Regions from separate parts of the Homo sapiens genome. Here region 2 is linked to region 1. Evidence: promoter capture Hi-C in human tissues and cell types (Jung and others, 2019). All regions are on one chromosome and are shown on one strand. The core of a region is centred on a gene start or on the middle of the fragment in contact, and the rest is flanking DNA. Distances in the headings are between cores, read along the strand shown. Region 1 holds the start of ICOSLG (inducible T cell costimulator ligand). Region 2 holds the start of LOC105372832 (a long non-coding RNA gene).

Region 1 (7,019 bases), core at 3,286-5,785:
AAAAAGGTGTATCTGGAAGTAGAATAGAAGCCTTCACTTGAGTGAACATGACTGAACGCCTCTCCCATCTTGGGACAGTCCTGGATGCTTACGACACACATCTCACGTCCAGGGATGAATTTAGCAAGCTCTGTAATGACCCCGGGGTTCCTGAAGCCACAGAGGGAGCACAGGTGAGGGCATCCAAGTGCAAATGAGCCCTCTGGGGAGGCCTGCTTGAGCTGACACATAAATGGGGTTGAAGCCATTGTGAGCCCATGGGCACGGGCCAGGCAGGGTGGTGAGAGCTCCAGACAGGGCGGGCTGGGCTCAGGCTGTGTCCACCCAGGGAACCAGTGTCATGGGCCCAACATAACTCGTGGTCAGTTTCTGTGAGGGCTGCTTCAAAGCAGGGGCCCAAGGCTCTGTTAGGGGCTTTCTGCCACCCAAAATGCACTTTCCTTCTTTTGTTCTCTCCCCAACACTCAGAACTGTCCACACCACCTTGAGATTCTCTATGTATTTTATTTTAAATTTTTATTTTTTGAGACAGGGTCTAGCTAGTCCCCCAGGCTGGAGTGCAGTGGCACAACCATAGCTCACTGCAGCCTCCGTCTCCTGGGCTCAAGAGATCCTCCAGCCTCAGCCTCTGGAGTAGCTGGGACTACAGGTGCATGCTACCATGCGCTGCTAATTTTTAAAAATTATTTGTAGAGATGGGGTCTTGCTCTGTTGCCCAGGCTGGTCTCAAACTCCTGGGCTCAAGTGATCCTCCCACCTTGGCCTCCCTAAGTGTTGGAATTACAGGTGTGAGCCACTGTGCCCGACCTGCCAAGTATTTGAATTTTATACACAGGACCTGTATCATGATCCCATGCTCAGCTGAACCACCCTCCAAAGGATGCCCATGTCCCCATTCCCGGATCCTGTGAATGTTACCTCATGTGGCAAAGGAAGGACTTTGCTGACGGGATTAAATTGAGGTGGAAGGCCTCCCTGGATCATCCAGGTGGGTTCTACGTGTCATCCCAAAGGTCCTCATAAGAGAGGGGCAAAGTGAGGCTTGACCACACAGAGAAGCCACATGGCCACTGAGGCGGCTGCTGGAGCTAAGCACAGGGATGCCTGGGCCACCCAGAGCTGGGAGAGGCAGGTAGGATACTCCCCTAGCGCCTCCACCAGGCAGGCTTCCGCTCTCCAGGGCTGAGAGAGAATAGACTGCTGTTGTTTTGAGCCAGCAAGCGTGAGGTCGTTAGTTCCAGCGCCCACAGGAAACGAACATACAGTCATGCACCACATAACCTTCGGTCAACAAGCAATGCCACAGTGCTCCCATATCACAGCGCGGTATTTTTACTGCACCTGTTCTATGTTTAGATGGCTTTAGATACACAAATACCAGTGAGTCACAGCTGCCTACGCTATTCAGCACAGTCACCTGCCGCGTAGGCTCGTGGCCCTGGAGCAGCAGGCTGTGACACACAGCCTCGGCGTGTAGCAGGCTGTGCCACCAGGGCCAGTGTGTGCACTCTGTGTTCACACAAGGACAAAATCACCTAAGGACGCATTTCTCAGAAGGAATGTATCCTTTTCGTTAAACAATGTATGACTGTTCCCCGAAGAGAAAAGATCTTCCTTGGACCAGAAGTTGAGCTCTCAGCATCAGCGGACGCCCATGCTGTCAAACGCAGGTTGCTGTGCCAGACCCCAAAAGGACCCGGGCCTGGAGGTGCATCAAGGTGGAGATCAGAAGACCCCCACGCCCTCGAAACGGCAGAGCAGGGCGGCCTGGGGCTAGGGGCATCAGGCAGCTGCTTCCTGCTTAAGCACTACGACTCGCACCCAGAGCCTCGAACTCCAGGCTGCACAAATACGATTCCTGCTTGGTTCCCAGTTGGCCCTGGACGCTGCCAAGGGGCCCTCTCTCCACACCCCTAGAACAAAAGCCTATCCTGCCGGCCCAAGAAACAGTCACGGTTGAGGGGGAAAACGAAAACCTTCCTTTGACTACAGGAAACTTCCCAAAGGTTTCCCTGTTTCTTCATCTAAACCCATCTAAGTGTTGTGACACATGTGCCGGTGTGCTGTGTGCGTTCACTTACAACAGCCCCATTCATGTATATGTCACACGTCAGGGGATGCAGGCACCAAGGGGCTAAGGAACTTTCTGGGGTCACACAGCTCCGGAGTTGGGATCTGAACCAGCCACCGCTTACCGTGGTCTCCGAGGTTCCTGGGCTGGTCCTGGCACCCTCCCCCGCGGCCGCCTCGGCCTGCCTCAGTGTCCCCTTCTGGCCCAGCTGCCTTCCTGCCCCTGCCTGGCTGTGGCCTCCACGCGGCGTCCCCTCTCTCGGGGGGGCGGGGGGGGGGCTGCCCGCAGCACTTGGCTTGCTGGGGTCTCCGGCGTCTGCCCGGGAAGCAGAGCCTGGACCTGCCCCCTCGGCCACAGCACGGCGGGCCCTGCGGTGTCGGCCCCTCTCCCACCGCCCCCGGGCGGCACTGGGGGGCTGCGGGGTCCGGACGCACCGACAGGGCACCTTCCCTTCGCCGCCGCGGATGACCGGCCGCGCTCTTGGGAGGCCTTAATTTGGGAGGCTCTGCTCCCCCAGGACCCATTCCCCATCCTCCCAAAGCCCCCACGCGGTATCCGGGGGCCGTCCCCCTCTCCGCAGTCCCGCGGGTGGAGGGGATTCAGGTGCGCCCGGCCCTGGGGGTGGAGCGCTCGGCCCGGCGTCAGCTCATCGGCGCGGCGCAGCCCCGGACCTCAGCCGCAGGCCCAGAGGCGCGCGGTTCCCGGCCGGTCAATCAGGGAGGGCCTCCGGGAGGAGGTGGCGCTGCCCGCAGCCCGCCCGGCTCACCTGCGCCCTCCTCACCTGCGCCCTCCTCACCTGCGGGGCCATGCGGTCCCTTACCAGCAGCCGCCCGCCCCGGGGCGAGGAACCTCAGCCCCCAACATCGCCACCCCTCCAGCCTCGCCGGTCCTAGCCGGCGTCCCTGGGCGTGTCCCGGGAAGCGCACGTCCACGCTGGCGCTGGACCGGGTTTTCTGACTCCAGGGACGGGACTCGTCCTAAAGAGTCCGGCTCAGATGCGGTTACGCGCCTCACCTCACCCGGGTGCGGACCGCCAGTGCCTCCGCCCTGCACTCCGCGGGCCCTGCCCAGCTCTTCCCGCCGGAGGGCAGGTGGCCCCCGCCCCGCCCCTGCCAGGCGCGCGATTTTAAATCCCCCCAACCCCCGTCTCTCAGCGTGGCCTGGGAGGGGGAAGCCGCCCGGCTTCAGGGCTTCCTGCGCCTTCGCCGCCGCCCTCCCTGCCCTTCCCCGCCGCCGTCCCCCCTATCCCCCCAGCCCGTCTCTTCCGCCTTCTTATTTTGTGCCTGGGCTCTCTGCTCCGCAAAAATGTTGACTTCCCACGGGCAGAGGTTTCAGAATTTTTTTAAAGCTTTTGTCCACGGCGTTCTCTACATCTTGGTTGAAGGAATGGCAGCCTGCGGGGTGCCGTCTGGGGCCCCCGTCTCCCTGCGCTTCTCGCCTCCTCCATGCGCAGGAGGCGGTGGGGATCCGAGCCTCAGCCCAGAGGCGGGGGCTCCGGGAGGAGGGTGCCCCGCTGCCCTGTCTAGCAGCCTCACCCAGGCCCTTCCGGAGGTGCCTCTGCAGAAAGGGAGTCACGTCCCCCCTGGGCCTCACCTGGCTTGCAGGGATCAGGGAGGGAGGGCGGGGTGGGCTGGGTGCGGTGGGGAAGGAGCAGGGACTCTGGGTCCCACCCTCGGTTGCGTGGTGCAGCCTTTCCCAAACCAGCTGCCCCAGACTCCAGGCCAGACGCCACTGCCAAGGCTGACGAGCCCAGAGCCGCAAGCCTGCCTCGGTTTCTCGGCGGGGGATCCTCAGAGCCAGTGTTAAGCAAAGAGGCTGCGCCAGCGCCCTTCACACCCCTAGAAGGCTAGGGGAGCAAGGCTAGGTGGGGGCGGGCTGGGGCTGGCCCAGAGGGTAGAGCCCGCCCACTTTCCCTCCCTCCTTCCATTCATGCATGCGTTCATTCAGTCATTCATTCCTCAGCAGTCGCTGAGCTCACTCGCCTTAAGTCCTGGAGATCATCGGAGCGCAGCCGGCCAGGGGCCTGGCGCTCTCCCAGCCTTGGGGCCTGGGTCCCCGGACTCCTGCTCGGGGAGGGCCGCAGGACCGGCGCATTGTGCGCGGCGCGGGGAACGGCCCTTGCCTCCCACGGTGCCCTCCCTCGCTGCGCCGGCACCCGCAGCACCCCTGGCCACCTTCCTGCCGGGTACCCCCCACCCCTGCGCTTCCCAGGGCACCTACGGCGCCCAGGTCCGCGTCCAGGCGGACAGGCCGACCTGCCTCTGTCCCGCCTCCGGCCGACGGGCACACGCCTGGGCAGAGCCGAACTTTCCGGAGCCGCCGCGCAGCGCCCCGCCTCCTGTCCCGGGGCGGTCTCGGTCGCCAGAGGAGCCAGGCCGGGGGCGGGGCGGGGACGGGGCGGGGACACGGCTGCCTCCAGCACACCGCGCGCTGGGCGCTCAGAGCCTCGGGCGCGGCGGGAGCGCAGTTAGAGCCGATCTCCCGCGCCCCGAGGTTGCTCCTCTCCGAGGTCTCCCGCGGCCCAAGTTCTCCGCGCCCCGAGGTCTCCGCGCCCCGAGGTCTCCGCGGCCCGAGGTCTCCGCCCGCACCATGCGGCTGGGCAGGTGAGCCGGGGAAGGAGCGGAGGCGCCGCGGTCAGGGGCGGGGTGGCTCGGCCCGCGCGTCCCCAGCTCGGCTCGGACGCGGGGCCTGCGGGGCTCGCCTGGAGGTGCCGGGCTGGCAGTGCGGGTCCGAGGAGCGGGCGGCGGAGGCGCCGGGGCGGCCGGCGGGGCGTGGACGGCAGTGGGCGGCGGGGCCTGGCACCGGGACCCATGGCAGGACGCACAGCCGTGCGGGGGCGGGCTCGGGGGCGGGGTCCCTGCCAGGGAAGGAGGACCGCGAACGCTGGAAGGAGGGAGGGAAGGCGGGCGCACCCTGCACGCCGGGGCACGGGCGCTGCCCCTTCCACTCCCTGGCACTGCTGATTTCCTAGAAGAAGGGAGAAGGAGGGAGGTGACCGGCCGAGCGCTCTCCAAGGCCAGCTGGTGCCCACGGTCTGCGGACACGCCCTCCCCCACACACGTGGGATTCCCCGCAGCCCGGCAGCCGATCCACACTGGGGAAGGCGGGGCTGCCTGAACCAGGAGTGACAGCTTCCTCCTGGATTTTTGCGAAAATATCCAAAATATACTCTTCGCAACCCACGTTGTAGGGTCCGCAGCCTGTGCTCCCCTGGGTGAACCTGTGAGGCCCCTGACCCCAGGGATGCCTCCCGCACAGCTCAGAGCTGGGCCACACCGGAGTCACACTCCCCAGGTCCCCTCCCCATTAGAAGTGTATGCAGTTATGATCCTGCCCTAGAGAGAAAGAATTTAAAGGTCCCGGAATGTCATAGCCCTCCCAAATGTCTTAGCCCTCCGCCACCCACACCTTCAGGTAGGCGGCCCTGTCCATGCTGGGTCTTGAGGCAAGCTCGGGGTGGGGGTAGGTTAGATGCAGGGGTGCTGAGGGTCCAAGGAAAGGACACAGAGGCCGCTGCTTAGGCAGCACCCAGGGAGGGGACAAGCCAGAAACAGCCTGGAGCAGGCACCCCCCACCCTGGCCCAGGAAGCCCCCAGATGTCCTGAGGAGGCCTCCATAGACAGGAGGGGCCTTGTGGGCTGGTGATGAATATGGGCACTGTGGGAGACAAATGGGGGCACAGAGGAGTTCTCACAGCTGTCGTTTAGATGGTGGCTCTGGGGAAATGCTTGAAGGGGCTAAGGGTGGAGGCAGGGGGCCTGCTGGAGGCCATCACAGCCATCTTGCCAGCCAGAATGGTGGCCCCAACAGGGGGAGTGGGAGAGAGAGGAAGGGCCGCCTGCAGACTTCAAGAGCCCCTGGTGGCCAGGGGCCGCCTTGGTGCATGTGTGCTCACTTGGCACAGACACACCTCCATGCAGACTCAGATGACAGCCATCGTGGGTGGGGCAGGGGTTTCTGTGGCTCCAGGGCTCAGGGACAGCCCACTGGGAGGTTCCCACAAGACCAACCTTTGACTTACAAAGCCCCCAAGCTTTCCCAGGCAGAGGCCACAGAGAAGAGGGATGAGCGTCTCCCAGACCTTGGAGGTGCAGGGACATCAGAGAAGGAGATGTCCCTGCTCCTGGGGCTCTTGCTTCATGGGGAGCTGGCCCCAGAAACTGATGGTTTGGGGGGCTGGGGTAAGCACTGCTACCAAAGTGGTCCCGGCCACTAAGGGCCCCCACGTGGGGAAGGCATCCTGGGGGCTGGCGGGAGGAGGTGGCGAGCCTGTGGCGTGCAGGGTGCAAAGGCTCCCAGACCCAAGATGGCAGGGGCATTGGAGTCACGAGGGGAATTTGCTGCCCGAGGCAGGGGCACCAGCTGCAGCAGGATCTGAAACAGGAGGAGCTCAGGTTTGGTTTCAAAATGATCCGCGTTCCGCACAGGGCTGTCCCGTCACTCACCTGACCCTGTCACGGGCACGCCTGATGTTCTCCGTCTCCCCAGCATTTTAAGTGACACTCCTACTATATGTGCCCTGAAAGCTTTTTTTTTTTTTTTTTTTTCTGATTTCCTACAACTTCTTGGCATCTGTCCCCAGGAAGGCTAGACCAGCCTCACTGGCGTCCCTCGCTCCCCTTCATCCTCACGCCAGCATCACTGTGTTTCTGGGGATTTGTTACCGCGAGAGCTAGAGAGTGGTGAGAGGCTGCCAGCCCCTCGGACTTGCTGTGCTGGGCAGGAGGGTGGTGGTCCTGGCCCCGGACCCCGAATTCCCATGGAGAACAGAGGCAGGCAGGCTCCTGGCTCTGCCTTCACATTTCTGTGATGGGCTTAACTACCTCCTGCTCATGGGAACCAGCCTGTTCCTGTTTGGAAGATACAGGTAACTCCCTGGTGGCCCCGCCTCACCTGCCTTTCTGGTTGTTTTTTCCAGTCCTGGACTGCTCTTCCTGCTCTTCAGCAG
Region 2 (6,908 bases), core at 4,409-6,908, 38 kb after region 1:
CCTGGGGTCCCCTCCCCTCCTGTACCCTTGCAGCTCCCATGAGCCTCAGCCCCCTCCAAGCCCGTCTCCCTAGCAAAACCTTCCCTGAGACTCTAGCCCTTCCCTTTCTGCTGTGATAGGATCTTACCACATCTGCAGAAGATTTAGTGCCTCCCGGCCCTGAGGCCCCGATGAATCACCCAGGCCTGGGTTCTTCCTGCGGACGGAAGACACTGACGGAGGCTGCGGGGCCTGCTTCCCTGAGAACTTGCACATTGACATCCTCCTCCTTGGTGGCTCCTTCCAAACACAACAAACGTGCAGGCCCAGAAGGACAGGCAGGATGGCGATGTGGGGGCAGGGAGGGCTGAGAGCAGCTGCCCCCAGGGAGGGAGAGGGCCAGAGAGAGTGACCGGAGGGACACAGACATGGACACGTCCCCACCATCGCCGGGGCTGGAAAGGAACAACCCAAAATGTCTCTGGACTTTGTCGAGTATCCCCTGGGGTTTCAAATGGCCTGGGGGTGAGAAGCTCTGGTCCAGGCAAAGTTGTGTCCCTGGACAATGACTGTGTCCAAATCATACCCCCCGCCCGGGGTCTGAGTCATCCAGTCGTGCCACGGTGGTGGCTCTTCTGCATGTGGACCAGAGACACCTGTTTTCCCTGATGCCCAAGACAGTGTTAGCGATGAACAAATGAATGAACAAACGCTGCAGAGGGGAGGCCTCCCTCAGCCTGGGGCTGCTTGCCCACCTTCCCCGTGTGTCCTCCTGCCCCCAGCCCTGGAGGGAGCCCACAGTCTCACTTCGGAAAACCCCTCCAGAAAGCCCGGGACAGAGCAGGTGTGTGGTTCAGCTCGAGGAGGAAACCGGAAGCGGCCATGAACCCACGCCTGGGCAGCCACCTGGAAACGTGGTCAGATGTGACCTCTTCACAGACTCGGGGGTGCTGGGCTCTGAGCAGAAGCGGCCGGGTGGTCCTCCTGGGTGCCTCAGGGGCCCGGGGAGCATGGGTCAGGGCGAGTGGCTGCTCCCTGGCCTCAGGTTATCTGGGTGCCCGGTGAGTGAGGCATGGCAGGCGATACCGGACCCCACCCACCGCGTATACCTCTGGAATAGCGATTGCCATGATTGATGTCAGTAGCCTGGGCTGGGAGCCTGCAGGTGGGTGTGAGGGGGTGGAAGGAGCTGGTGTGAGAGGAAGTAGGGCAAGCGGGGGCTGGGAACTGGTTTGGGAACAACCGCAGCCTGGTCAGCAGGACCCACAGGGCCTGGACAGGGGCTGGAGCTGACCGCTGGCTGACCGGCTTTGCTGCAGCCACGTTCCTGCAGGGGACACAGACCCACCCACATTAGAAAAGTGACCCCTGCACCCCCAGTCAGCCTCCCGGAACGGCTGTCACCACTGTTTCCTGATTCGCTGGTGCATGTCTCCCCCACGGGGCACACATGCGTGGCCTTAGGCCTGAACAGAGCTGCTCACAGCACCCACTTCCCTTTCGGTTTTAAAGCTGCTGTGCCCGGGGGAGGGAAGCCTTCCCCCAATGGGTGTTCTTATTTATTTTCTTAATCACAGGTAATCAGAACTGCGAAGATGATTGGGTCACAGCCAGGAGACTGATTTTGTATCCAGAAGTTTCTGTTTCACAATCACTAAACTACTCATGCTCAAAGATTAGTGTCAACAAGAAATAAACAGACTCTGATACCGATATAAAATGAACGCGCGTTCAAGATTTCCTTCAACTCATTGTTAGCGCAGAAACCGGTAAGATGTGCCAGCCAGGTCAAAGGAGAAGTGACAAAGGCACCTGTGTACGCGGAGTAAAGGGATACAGGTACGCTTCACATACGAGGACTGGCTCTCCCACGGACGGGCGGGCGGTGGGAACTCGTGGGCAGCCGCGGGCAGAGCCCATCTGCATGCTGTCCAGGCAGTCCAGACTGTCCAGGCTGCTGCAACAGAGGACCACAGGCGGGGCCTAGAAACCGCAGATGTTTGTCCTCGCACATTTCTGGAGGCCAGAGTCCAGCATCAAGGCGTCGGCAGGACTGGCTCCTTCTGGGAACTCGGAGAGAATCCGGTCCAGCCTCAGCCCCTTCTGGCACAGCCGGCAGCCCTGGTGTCCCCCGATCAAGGCCGCGGTGCTCCAGTCTCCGACTCCGTCCTCCTGTGGTTTGCCTCTGCGGACCCCAAATCTCCCTCTCGTTCCTTCCACACGGGTGCTAGTGTCGGATTCAGGGTCCATCTGCATAACCCAGGATGACCTCGTCTCAAGAGCCTTAATTTGTCTGGGCACGGTGACTCACGCCTGCAATCCCAGCACTTTGGGAGGCCAAGGCAGGCAGGTTGCCTGAGGTCAGGAGTTTAAGACCAGCCTGGCCAGCATAGTGAAACCCCATCTCTACTAAAAATACAAAAATTAGCTGGGTGTGGTGGTGGGTGCCTGTAATCCCAGCTACTTGGGAGGCTGAGGCAGGAGAATTGCTTGAACCCAGGAGGCAGAGGTTGCAGTGAGCCGAGATCGTGCCACTGCACTCCAGCCTGGGCAACAAGAGTGAGACTCCGCCTAAAAAAAAAAAAATAAAACAAAAAACAAAACAAAAAAACAAAAAAAAAGCCTTAATCTAATGACGCATCTACAAACACCCTATTTCCAAATAAGCTCAACCCCATAGGCATGAGGGTCGGGACTTACACATAGCTTTTGGGGGCCACTGTCAACCCACTACACGTGGCTATAAGCAAGAGTTATCTGCATTGCTCTCTGTTATCTGTAATGTACAGATTGGAAAATCGCTCAAAGGCAGCGCGAGGCTAAAATCAGAAAACCCAGAAGGGAGATGGCTCCCACTGCAGGCACCCAGTCCTCCTTCAGGCTCGGCTGCGTGTTCCAGACATGCTCACACTCACTTCTCAGGGTCATTCCAAGGCTCCCAGAATGGCCGCTGTGTTTTTTTGTTTTTTTTTTTTTTGAGACGGAGTCTTGGTCTGTCGCCCAGGCTGGAGTGCAGTGGTGCGGTCTCGGCTCCCTGCAACCTCCACCCCTGCAGGTTTAAGCAATTCTCTGCCTCAGCCTCCGGAGTAGCTGGGATTACAGGCACAGGCCACCACGCCGGCTAATTTTTTTGTATTTTTAGTAGAGACAGGGTTTCACCATCTTGGCCAGGCTGGTCTTGAACTCCTGACCTCATGATCCACCCACCTTGGCCTCCCAAAGTGCTGGGATTACAGGCGTGAGCCGCCTGGCCCGCTGTATCTTTTTACGCCCACCCGTCCCTGGGGGCTGCAGGCACAGGCCCTGGGGGCCTGGTCAGTGCTGTTTGGGCAGGGGGAATCCTGGACCTGGAAAGGGGAGGGGTCTGGAGCACAGAGGAGCCAGGTGAGGGAGGCCTCCAGGTGCAGGCAGGGTGGAGCCTGGGATGGAGTGATGCAAGAGCCCGCTCCACTCCGCCAGCACCCAACAGCTCTTCCCTTTCTCTCCCAGGCCTCCTGCCTTCCCTCTTCCCTGGTCTTCCCTTCAACACCAAGACTGCAGGCATCACCCCCACCCTAAGAGCCCAAGCAACCACCGACGCCCCATCCCCTTCCCCTCCCCCTATCCCCTCCCCTCTCCCCCTCGGTCCCTTTTTCCCATGGGCGCTGGAGCTTGCAGGGCAGCTGTACCCGTGGCTCCCTCTCCAAATGCTCCCCTAACGCACGCCCTTCTCACTTCCATCGGGCTCTGCTCAGAGAGACCTACCAATGTCCAGCACCCATGGCCGCAATACTGCGTGAGCTGAGACCCCCCTGCAGCCATCCCCATCTGCACCACAGGTACTCAGCAGACAATGGCTGCAGGTGGGCGAGGGCACCCTCACCATCCACCTCAAGTGCAGACCTGCCAGCCTCACGCTCAGCCCTTGGGCCTGGCTGGGGAAGTGTCTAGGGCACAGATCCTGGCACAGGGCAGGCCCCTCCTCCACATTTCACAGATGGCAGATGAATGAGGAGGAGGGGAAGGAGGGGGTGAGCAGCCCATTGCCAAAAGCCCGTGGGAAATAGGGATCCTGGGGGAGATCCTGGCTCACGGAGATCAGAGGGGCGGGGCCACCAAGGAAGGGTGTGGGGGGGAGGCAGCTGCTGCTCATGGAAGGCAGCCGGATGGAGGTAGCGGGGTCAGGCAGAACAGGCCTGAAGAGAGGGGCATAGGGTAGGGACATCAAAGGAAGAGGCAGCGGTTGCCCTGGCCAGGGCCCACAGCAGGTGCGGGCATGGCTCTGGGCTGGCTCACCTGGCCCCCCCGACACCCTCCCTGCAGAGCCCCCGCCCACAGCTGCTCCACAGGGGGTACCAGTGGGTGTCAACCCCTGGCAGCGGGGACACCAGGCCTCTCTGAGCTGATATGGGGGGTGCAGGGGCAGCCCTGGAGTCCCAGCGGGCTGTGCCCTCTGTCCTGGCCTCATCCCTGTGAAACTGCCTTTGCAAAAATTGTAACAGCCATTATTCCGGAGGTCACACAATTTGCAACTTCCCCAATTACTCCTGAGGATGAATCACTATTGTAGACGCTAAGATCGGCCTTTTGAGGTGTCTTTTCAGGTTTTTGCATTTCTGACAATGATGGCTCCACCTGGATTTGGACACACCAACCCCCCTGCCCGCCACAAACGGGTCCTGTGGCCCCACCCAGAAGCAGACTCCCTGGCCTGCCAAACTATCCTTGAAAAACCCGAGCCTGAGAATTTTGGGGGAGATGATTGATTTGAGTAATAACTCCGTCTCTTGGGGGAGATTGATTTGAGTAATAACTCCATCTCCCACGTGGCATGGCCAGCCTGGTGTCTATTAAACTCTTTATAGCAATGCCTTGGGCCCAGTGAAGAGGTTTTGTCTGTGCAGGGGCAGGAAGAGCCCATCAGGCGGTTACACCTGGAGGCCCAGCCCTGAGCCTCCCGCCTTCTCCAGCGTCTGCAGAAGCTGACCCAGAGCCTCTGCTTCGGGATTCCTGGGCTGTGGTCAGGGTGGGTCTGGGGACTCCCGTGCTGCGGGGCTCCTGGTCTGCTCCCCAGAGGCTGTGGGCAGAAGCTGAGACCTCTGAAGAAATCCTAGGGATTTTCAGGAAACCAGTGCATGTTTTCTCTTCTCTAACCATGCACAGGGGACACAGAAAGCCCCAAAGATCGGGGCCACTGCGATTCGTTTTCCAGAGAAGGACGCTCCGAGTTTGCACTCTGACCGCACTGATGGGGCCCTGTTCCTCCGGTGTCCATGGCTCCCAGCAAAGCAGACCAGCACCGCCCCCACGCACACCTAGGCCCAGCCCAGCCCCAACACCGGCTGCCGAGCTCACCATGATGAGGGCTAATGGCTCTGGGCATCGGCCTGCAAGCATTTACTGAGCACCTACTGTATGCTCAGTGCCCACAGGCCGAGAGGCAACGAAGACAAAGTCTCTGTCCTTAGTTCAGGGAAGCCACTCCCAGGCAGGGTTCTAGGAAAGAAAGAGCCCCGGGCTGCATCCGCACTTCTCTGGGCTCCAACAGGATGTGGTTGCATCATCTCCTGGAGGAACGGATTTGCCTTGAAACGCAGGAGGCAGAGCGGGCCTGGGAGAAGGAGGTTGTTTCCACGCCTTCCTGGGGGAGAGGCTGGTGCAGTCGTGAGAGTCAACCGGGAGCTCGGAGGAGGAGCAGACAGGACGTGGGAGAGCTCGGGAGAGACCCAGGCTGGGCGTCTTGCAGCTCAGACCCTTGGCCACCCAAGCAGCGTAGCCGGCATCACAGCCCACGGCGTGAGGCCACCAAGACAGACAGAGGAGGTGAGGGGGACCCGGACTGGGCCAGCCACACGTGGAGGTCGTGGAGGAAGCAGGCATCTATGCGGAATCTCGGCCGCCCAGTCTGCCTTGTCCACAGAGAGGTGCCTGTCCGCTGCTTCGAGCGTGTGCCGACGTCTCCCGAATGTGTCCCCTTTCTCTTCTTCCTTGGGATTTCCTAACGTCTGACGATCCCAGCTTGCGTTGGCCCCCTGTGCTGTGGCCCCACGACGTTTTGTCCAGCTTGATCAGAGCAGAAAGGGGACCTGGTGGGCAGCCCAAGGGGCAGGAAACTTCCGGGTGGATTCCAGCACAGCCCCAGCCCTGCCGGGGTCTTCATGCCAAACCCCTGGTCGGCCAGGCTTGAAGCTGGGCTGTGGAGCCACAGTCCTGGCCTACAGGCAGGTGCTTAAGTCACTCAGGCCACTATGACACAGTTCCACAGCCTGGGCAGCCTACATAACAGACATGTACCTCTCACAGTTCCAGAGGCTGGACGTCCACAGTGAGACACTGTCTCTAAAAAATAAATAAATAAAAAATAAACAAAAGGCCAGGAAAAACGTAAGGTAGTATCAAAAATGTAATGTGTCAATCTCTTTTCATGACAGGCTACAACTGAAAACACCAGTCATATTACCAAGGCTGTGACCGAAATCGTGTCTCTGAGAATGTGCCTCAAGCGTTCCAAGCCTGGCCGGCCGCGCTGGCTCACGCCTATCATCCCAGCACTTTGGGAGGCTGAGGTGGGAAGATCACCTGGTGTCAGGAGTTTGAGACCAGCCTGGCCAACATGGTGAAACCCCATCTCTACTAAAAATACTAAAATTAGCTGGGCGTGGTGACAGCCGCCTGTAATCCCAGCTACCTGGGAGGCTGAGACAGGAGAACCGCTTGAACCCGGGAGGCAGAGGTTGAAGTGAGCCAACATCGCGCCATTGCGCTCCAGCCTGGGCAACAAGATCAAAACTCCATCCCCCCTCCAAATAAAAAGAAAGTTCCCAGCCTTACAGCGAGAGTAAATAAAAACTGTCACCATCTGGCAGGCCCAGGAACCTCAGGGCTATCGGTCAAATCTAAAGCCTGCCTTGGTTTGGCTTCTTAGCCTCAAGAGGCCATTAAATCTGAGA

Evidence for each region. Contacts are between HindIII fragments. The study calls those that stand out against the background at their distance.
Region 2: a fragment that was not itself captured here is called in contact with the fragment with the promoter of ICOSLG in region 1 in 2 of the 25 tissues and cell types used here (lymphoblastoid cells and spleen).

What each region holds. Positions count from the first base shown.
Region 1 is chr21:44,238,459-44,245,477 of GRCh38, reverse strand. It overlaps ICOSLG (inducible T cell costimulator ligand), which reads left to right and starts at 4,535. Exons shown (of 7, transcript NM_015259.6): 1 at 4,535-4,674; 2 at 6,990-7,019. The coding sequence starts at 4,661. RefSeq lists enhancers at 2,237-2,775, 5,280-6,058 and cis regulatory regions at 3,809-4,724, 3,800-4,724, 3,725-4,724. The HindIII fragment of the contact is 7,916 bases long and covers 1-6,351 here.
Region 2 is chr21:44,201,439-44,208,346 of GRCh38, reverse strand. It overlaps LOC105372832 (a long non-coding RNA gene), which reads left to right and starts at 938. Exons shown (of 4, transcript NR_188576.1): 1 at 938-1,144; 2 at 1,557-1,818; 3 at 6,390-6,524. It overlaps LOC102725065 (a long non-coding RNA gene), which reads right to left and starts at 5,401. Exons shown (of 3, transcript XR_937789.3): 1 at 5,314-5,401; 2 at 128-2,229. RefSeq lists cis regulatory regions at 1-443, 1-471, 470-1,519, 1,128-1,628, 604-1,669 and enhancers at 643-1,842, 4,970-5,732, 5,733-6,496. The HindIII fragment of the contact is 4,473 bases long and covers 3,422-6,908 here.